Linked DNA regions of Homo sapiens: region 2 is linked to region 1. The links are contacts of gene promoters, found by promoter capture Hi-C in human tissues and cell types (Jung and others, 2019). All regions are on one chromosome and are shown on one strand. The core of a region is centred on a gene start or on the middle of the fragment in contact, and the rest is flanking DNA. Distances in the headings are between cores, read along the strand shown.

What was found. Contacts are between HindIII fragments. The study calls those that stand out against the background at their distance.
Region 2: a fragment that was not itself captured here is called in contact with the fragment with the promoter of CD300C in region 1 in 1 of the 25 tissues and cell types used here (thymus).

Annotation. Positions count from the first base shown.
Region 1 is chr17:74,544,508-74,548,575 of GRCh38, reverse strand. It overlaps CD300C (CD300c molecule), which reads left to right and starts at 2,461. Exons shown (of 4, transcript NM_006678.5): 1 at 2,461-2,854; 2 at 3,629-3,967. The coding sequence starts at 2,794. It also overlaps a transcript of LOC107985074 not described here. The HindIII fragment of the contact is 17,316 bases long and covers 1-3,717 here.
Region 2 is chr17:74,382,679-74,387,131 of GRCh38, reverse strand. No RefSeq gene overlaps it. Among named protein-coding and RNA genes, the nearest start is that of GPR142, 17 kb to the right of the region's middle. RefSeq lists an enhancer at 1-366. The HindIII fragment of the contact is 6,667 bases long and covers 1-4,453 here.

The DNA of each region.
Region 1 (4,068 bases), core at 1,212-3,711:
TTGGTTGAGGGCCGTGACTTCTTAATGTGGTAGTTAACTGAGTCTTTTGCTTACTAGTGCAGACCATGTCTGCTTATCCAGACAAAGGAAGACGTTATCAGCTGACCATCGTTTCGGTTCCAGGGATGCCACACCCAAGACCCCTGTGAGGCAGATGATCCCCATGAGTCCACCAGGTCAAGGAGGGACACGCCTGGGGGTCCTCACCTATTTTTACATTCAGCAGATACTTATGGGAGCTTCTGGTGTATCAGACACTGACCTGGCATTGGAGTCCAGCCGTGAACACCCAGGCAAGGAGCTCTGTTTTCATTGAGCTCATATTCCAGGCGGGGGATAGAAATGATAAACAGATGCAAAAATACGTGCATAAATTCCAGAAGAAATATAAAAGTCAGAGATGAAAAGAGTCACGGAATGAAATAAGAGAAGTGGGGTGACTGCTGTGCAGGAGCTGAGGGGGACTGTGGTGAAGCCCCTCTAATAGGCGCTGAGCAAGCAGGGATCAGGAGAAAGGAGGGGGTGAGCGCCAGGATCCCTGGAGGAGGAGCCCTGAGGCAGAGAGAGGAGCAGGTGCACATGTCCTGCCAGGGGCAGATGCCTCCCTGGGTCAGGTGGCTTCAGGGCCTCCAGACAGCATTTCCTGTCTCCTCCCCAGCCTGGGCAGGAAATGGTGCACCAACTTTGGATGACTAAGTCCTCTGAGGCAGTGGGACATCAGGATGTCATGTATCCATTCACCCATTCATCCTTTCAACAGCCAGTTTGTTAAACTGCACTTGGCAGACTCTGGAATGATAACGGGCACAGCTGTGAATGAGACAAGAGGCTGCACCTGCTCTCAAGGGGCGGCCACCCTAGATGGGAGCAGACATTGACTCGCCAACAGAAAGACTGAGGAAGACGAGAGGGAAGTGTGAAATGGGTCATGAGGACCCCTAAAAAGCGAGCCACCATAACCCGGGAAGGTCAAGGAACACGCAGGCAACCCTGTCGGCTGGAGCCAGGCAGAGGAGTGGGAGGTTGAGGGTCTGGACAAAGGCCCGAGTGGGGAGGGTGGCAGCACCAGTGTGAACCTGGATCCAGGAGGCTGGAGACACCTACCAGGTGCTGGGGCCTGCCAGGACCTGTGTGCAGAGGCCAGGTCAGGTGGGTGCCATCCTGTGACAGCAGGAGCCATTGGGAGTTCAGCAGCGCCTCCCCAGGGCCATGTGTGTGTGTCAGGGATCACATTGCTGATTCTGTGGAGAATGAAAGGGGTGGGTATGAGCAGAAGGGGAGACCAGGTCAGCCCATGAAAGAGCCGGGATACTTCAAAGCCAGGCCCAGGCCAGACCTGAGCACTGGGCTAATTGGAGGCCCTGGGATTGCACTGGGCTAGAGATAGTCCCATGATGTGAGTCTGGGGGCATCAACACCAATGACCCCAGTGCATGCTGTGTCCCTGAGAGTGTAAATGGAGGGAGGACAGGGCAGGTCGAGGGTGCAGAGACCCCTTCATGGTGCCAGGTTTGCCCAGACTCCCATCACTCTCCACTCAACCTCATGGCTGTGTGCACATACTGGTGCTATTGACTCTGATAGGAAGAAAGGAACAGAAATCTGTAGGAGGGTTGGGAGAGTCAAGGAATATGCTTAAGGCATGAGAAGGTGGAGAAGGGGTGATGCCCTCCAGGACAGACAGGAGGTAAATCCTGTGTCTGACTAGCCTCCTTGCCCTTTCCAGGGTAAAGACACCCTGAGCCCATCACGTCAGGAGAACCAGCCATGCCGAGTGTGGATAGACCTGGGTTCCCGCCTCCTGGGAAGGCCTGTCTGCCATGTCTGCTCCCTGCGGAGGCCCCTGGCCATCACAGTGGACCCAGGATAGACACCAGCAGCCGCTGCTCATGACAAACTGTCCTCTCAGTCACCAAACACCCCTCCGTGTGCCCTGGGGTGTGTGCTGGCTCAGTCGCAGCCTCACATCCTCCACAAAGTCCCACTTCAGCATCTTCACATGTCTGAACTCTCTCTCTATTCTCAGTTCTCTGCCCTGATTCCCACTGGGGCATGGATTTTGGCAAGAAGACAAGATGGAAAAGGAGGGTCTCGGGTGGGTGATGCCGCTGTGTGTGTAGGTCTGGGGGCAGGGGCACAAGAGGAAAACTCCCCAAGCCTGTGGGATTTTAACCTGGTTGGGGACTCAGCACCAAAAAGGGACATGCAGATGGTGTCTGGGTTCATAGCGCTAACTTCTGAGGCCAGAAGAAGAGCTGGGGGTCTTAGGGGCAGAGGTCTCTGCGGGGACCTAGCTGAAGATTAAGGGACACAACCTCTCTCTGGTCACCTCCAAGGCTAAAGAAGGTGGCAGATTTAGCCTCCAACCACAAGATTGTCCATCCTGACCAGGAAGTGACATGTCACAGAGGGTGGAGCAGCCCATGTGGTAGGAAATGGCCCAGCTTGGCTCTGCCTTCTGCAGTGTGAGTAACACACTGAAGCCAGAAGCTGTGGGCTGTGGGGAAGTGGCTGCATCGCCACCCAAGGGACCCTGGACTTTGCCAGACGTCAGGGTTGAGAGGAGCCACTAGCACCATCCCAGAGCTGTCAGCACCGGCCTCAGCCCAGGCGGCTCTCTCCCTGAGCTTCCTGTACCCTGACCCTCTCCAGCCTCAGACCTGAGACAGGGCTGGACAAGGAAGCAGAGAGCAGAAGAAAAGCAGAAGCGAAGCTCAGATCTGCTGGGAGGAGATTACATTTTGTCCCCTCCTGGGGTCTTGCACAGTGGCAGGTGACATTCGTGTTACAGGAATGACTGCCAGGGCCTGGGCCTCGTGGCGGTCTTCAGCTCTGCTCCTCCTGCTTGTCCCAGGTGAGTGGGCCGACCCTGGACTTGGGGAGCTCTGTCCTGAGTGGGAGAGGGCAGGGAGGGGTGCAGGCGCTGGAGTAGCGGTCATAGAGGGGAGTGGGGCAGGGAGAGGGGAGGAGGGCAAAGGAGCACCCAGGAGCGGTCAGCAGCTGCCTCACCAGGGGACAGCAGGCGGCAGGGCACAGCACGGGGGAGGCCTATTCCTCTGTGCCCGAGACAGGAAGCCCTGGTGGGAGGTGATGCTGTGACTGTCATTGCCAAAGTTATCCAATCACAAATTTTATCTGGGACGATCACACACACAGTCACACTCACACGCACACACGGTCACACTCACACAGTCTCACACACATGCACACACAGTCACACTCACACAGTCTCACACACACATGCACACAGTCACACATGCACACACAGTCACACTCACATGCACACACAGTCACACATGCACACACAGTCACACACAGTCACACTCACACAGACAGTCACACTCACACAGTCACACACACAGAGTCACACTCACATGCACACACAGGCCCGCACACACCCAGTGTTTCCCTAGCCTTGCCTTTCCAGTCTCCATGGAAACTTCCCATGCCCTTCCCACCTCTGCACAGAGGGAGCCTCCCACCCTCAGTCCCTGTTCCTGGGTGGACAAAGGCTGCCTGCCTGCCATTGCCTTCTCCACACGCCCAGGGTCCATGAGGGGCTGACACTGCGGCACCCCTGACCAGGCCCCTCTGGTAAGGAGACAGGATTTTGGCTTGTATTTTTCAGGCTATTTTCCTCTGAGCCACCCCATGACCGTGGCGGGCCCCGTGGGGGGATCCCTGAGTGTGCAGTGTCGCTATGAGAAGGAACACAGGACCCTCAACAAATTCTGGTGCAGACCACCACAGATTCTCCGATGTGACAAGATTGTGGAGACCAAAGGGTCAGCAGGGAAAAGGAATGGCCGAGTGTCCATCAGGGACAGTCCTGCAAACCTCAGCTTCACAGTGACCCTGGAGAATCTCACAGAGGAGGACGCAGGCACCTACTGGTGTGGGGTGGATACACCGTGGCTCCGAGACTTTCATGATCCCATTGTCGAGGTTGAGGTGTCCGTGTTCCCGGGTGAGCCCCTCCTTTTCTCAGCACCAGGCCTGCCTGAGCCTAGGGCTGGTCATTCTGTCCCTGAAGAAAGAAGTGGAACAGGAGGGTGTGAGCCTGGGGGT
Region 2 (4,453 bases), core at 104-2,603, 160 kb after region 1:
CGACAGCCGTCCCCAGTATGTTAATTATAACAATGTAACCCCGTGGGGTGCAGGCTCCCCCGACTCTCACCCTTCCAAACCAACGCCAGGTCCCTCCTGGCCAAGCTGGCCCAGACCCACAAGTCTCTCAGCCAGTGGTTCCAGGCTCCAACCAAGGACCTGGGATTCTTGCAGGATGCCAGAGAAGAGGTGGCCAAGAGAACCCAGCGGCGTCGTTCTCATTACAGGGGCCTCCTCAGCGAAGACCCCTCACTCTCTTCTGGCTTTCCTCTCTGGTTTCCTCACTGACGTCATAAAAATTTGTATTCATTCATTCAATAAATACTTATTGAGAACATGCCCAAAGTACTGGGGTAATTAAGAGTGGGAGACAAGGAGGCAAAAATGAGTCAGCTGTGAACTTTGCCTGCGGAAGGCTGAGACCGGCAGATTCCTGTCCAGGTTCTGAAACTTACTAGTTCTGTGACCTTAGCTACGTCAGCTCACTTTTCTGATTCCCAGTTTACTTGTCTGAAAAACTAGGATGATAATCACAGATTGCTGGTGAGAGACTGACTCTACAAATGGCCAGCGGCCAGACCAGACATAAAAATAGATCTCTGACCCACAATCTGCAGCAACCAGCCCAGGAAGCCCCGCCATCCTCTACAACGACCAGCCCAGGAAGCCAGCCTGCTGTCTGCTAGCTACAAGTCATACTTGCGGAAGTCAGGCGATCAGTTCTAATGACTGGTCCAAGAAGTCAACCAATTGACTCCACTTGGCCAGGACTTGATTTGTAATCGACAGTTTCCCTAATTCTCATCCCTGCTTCCAATTTATCCCCATTTCCAAGAAAAAGCCAAATATGGGCTGGATGCAGGGGCTCACACCTATGATCCCAGCACTTTGGGAGGCTAATGCGGGTGGATCTCTTGAGCCCAGGAATTTGAGACCAGCCTGGGCAATGTAGTGAGACCCCATCTCTACAAAAAATATAAAAATTAGCCAGGTGTGGTGGCACACACCTGTAGTCCCAGCTACCTGGGAGGCCGAGGTGGGAGGATTGCTTGAGCCCATGAAGTTGAGGCTGCAGCGAGCCCAGATGGCACCACTGCACTCCAGCCTGGGCAACAGAGTGAGACACTGTCTCAAAAAAAAAAAAAAAAAAGTAAAGCCAAGTATGCCCCTCTAACCAATCCCATAGGATGCCCTGTCCTCTTCTAGTGAGCTGCTTCCAGCTTCCTAGGCCCACAGCCTCCATCAAGGTAAACCTGAAGCTTCCCTTTCCTTTCCCCCTCCCCTCCCCTCCCCTCCTTTCCTTCTTCCTTTTTTTCTGTTCTTTTCTTTCTCTCTTTCTCTCTTTCTTTCTTTCTTTCTTTCTTTCTTTCTTTCTTTCTTTCTTTCTTTCTTTTCCTTCTTTCCTTCTTTCTTCCTTTCTTTCTCTCTTTCTTTCTTTCCTTTCTTCTCTCTCTTTTTTCTTTCTTCTCCTTCTTCTTCTTTTTTTTCAGGGTCTCATTCTCACCCATGCTGGCATTCAGAGGCACGATCACAGCTCACTGCATCCTTGACCTCCCGGCTCAGGTGATCCTCCCACCTCAAGCCTCCCAAGTAGGTAGGACTACAGGTGCATGCCACCACACTCTGCTAATTTTTTGTATTTTTTGTAGGGATGGGGTTTTGCCATGTTGCCCAGGCTGGTCTTGAACTCTTAGGCTCAAGTGAGCCCCCTGCCTCGGCCTCCCAAAGTGCTGGGATAACAGGTGGGAGCCCCCATGCCTGGCTGAGTCACACAAAAACAAACAAAAACTTACCTTCCTTTTGTTCCCAAATAGCCAGCTGTCATCTCACATGCTTACTTTATCTTACGTAAAACATATATTTATTAAGCACACCTCTTTTCCTGTGTAAAATGTGGATTCAGTGAGTACTAATCAAAGCCTCACAGGAACATAACAACTTCCCTCATTGCCTGCTCTCCCTCCCTTTTCCTTTTCCTTCCCCTGCTGCCTGCTCTCCCTCCCTTTGTCCTTTCTTCCTTCCCTTCCTTCCTGCTCTTCCCTCTTTAAATTTTTTTTTTTTTTTTGAGACGGAGTCTTGCTCTTGTCGCCCAGGCTGGAGTGCAGTATCGTGATCTCGGCTCACTGCAACCTCTGCCTCCTGGATTCAAGAGATTCTCCTGCCTCAGCCTCCCAAGTAGCTGGGATTACAGGTGCCTGCCACCACGCCTAGCTAATTTTTGTATTTTTAGTAGAGACGGAGTTTCGTCATGTTGGCCAGCCGGGTCTCAAACTCCTGACCTCAGGTGATCCTCCTGCCTCAGCCTCCCAAAGTGCTGGGATTATAGGCATGAGCCACCGCGGCCAGCCCCCTCTTTAAATGTTGAAGTCCTCAAATCTCCTGGGAAAAAGCACAGGCCACAGATCCTACTGCAACTCGTGTTTCTCTTCCTCTGGCGCGTCCTCGACCTTGGCAAATAATCCTCTGAATCGATGGAGTTCTGTCACAGATACTTTTTGGCTTACGCCACCCGAGAGCTTCCCTACCCCGCCCGCCTTTGAGTCCCTCTCAAACACAGGTGGTGGTGGCTGCCCCCTTGTTACCCAGCAAGCCCTGAATCATGGCCTTTGCGCCTTCTCATTCATGTTCTCTGTTTATTTCCACGTTGGAGTAGAGGAGTGAGGGAGTGTGGAAGAGCTGGTGAGAGTCCAGAACTCCAGAAATATGAGGTGGAAAGTCCACGGGCAGGAGAGCAGCTGGAGACTCCACATCACCGTGGGAGCTTCCTCCAGGCCACTGAGCCGAGCTCTGGCGTGGACACTGGTGTGGAGCAGCCTCCTCACATGCAGCCACTCGAGCCCTGTAAGGACAGGACCCTGCGCCCCTTGGCATCAGAAGAAGGGCAAAGGGAGTCTGGGCGCGGTGGCTCATGCTTGTAATTCTAGCACTTTGAGAGGCCGAGGCGGGCAGATCACTTGAGGTCAGGAGTTCGAGACCAGCCTGGCTAACATGGTGAAATCCCATCTTTACTAAAAATAGAAAAAATTAGCCAGGTGTGGTGGTGGGCACCTGTAGTCCCAGCTACTCGGGAGGCTGAGGCAGGAGATTCGCTTGAACCCAGGAGGCGGAGGTTGCAGGGAGCACTCCACAGCACTCCAGCCTGGGCGACAGAGCGAGACTCAGCCTCAAATAAATAAATAAATAAATAGGCCAGGTGCAGTGGCTCACGCCTGTAATCCCAGCACTTTGGGAGGCCAAGGTGGGAGGATCACCAGAGGTCAGGAGTTTGAGATCAGCCTGGCCAACATGGCGAAACCCTGTCTCTACTAAAAATACAAAAATTAGCTGGGCGTGGTGGTGGGCGCCTGTAGTCCCAGCTACATGGAGGCTGAGGCAGGAGAATTGCTTGAACCCAGGAAGCAGAGGTTGCAGTGAGCCGAGATTGTGCCACTGCACTCCAGTCTGGGAGACAGAGCAAGATTCTGTCTTAAAAAAAAAAAAAAAAGAAAGAAAGAAGTGGGGCAAGGGGGCCCAAGCAAGAAGAGCCTCAGAGGGTGGGGCCAGGCTACCAGGCCGGCCAGGGCAGTGCCTCTCTGTCCATCTCAATCACCCTTCCCTTCCGACCACCTCTGGGTACATGTCCAGAGCCCAGAGGGATACCTCTGAAACTCTGGACCCAGGGCTAAGCCCCCATGGACACAGGATGCTCACGGGGAGGGGTAGCTGAAGCCCCCATTCTCAAATCTCCTAGGGGATTATGTCATGACAGAGTGGAGCGCTGCTGCTTCTCTCTCTAAGCCTCTTGCACAATCCTCCTTCTTGCTAGAAGTGTTCCAGGGACCACAGAGGGTGTGAGCATTCCCTCCCTCTGCCCCCAGGTCTCCTCCAAACCCAGTGTACCCTGCAGAGGCTTCTGGTAGCCCTCCAGCTGCTCCCTGGCCTCCCTGTCTCTCGCCTGGGCTATCCCTCTGGCCTCCTAAGGGGTCTCCGGCCTCCTGATGTTTCAGTTCATCCTCCCTAATACCACCAGCAGGATCTTTCTAGAACATACCCTTAAGAACCATCAGGAGCTCAGTGTGCTGTATGAAGACCTTCAGTGTCAGTACCAGCCCATCATTCCAACGTTATCTTCCATCACCCCCTTTCTACCCACTAGGTCCCGGCCACACCAAACTACTCATCGTTTTTATCTAACTCCCAGCATTAGAGTTAAGGGGTATGTGCTCCTGTGTGCTGAGACACACAAAAGACTGACTGACTTCACCTTGAACCTGCCTTCTAGATCCAGGCTCTGCTAACTCTAGCATCTCCCTATGCCTTGCACACAATGGCGAGATGTACAGAAGGCAGAGAGCAACCGGCCGATTAAAATCCTGTTTTCCCCACTAACTAGTGTTCTTTGGTCAAATTGCTTAAACTCTCTGGCCCTCAGTATGTCCATGTATAAAATGGAAATAACAAGAATTCCTGCCTC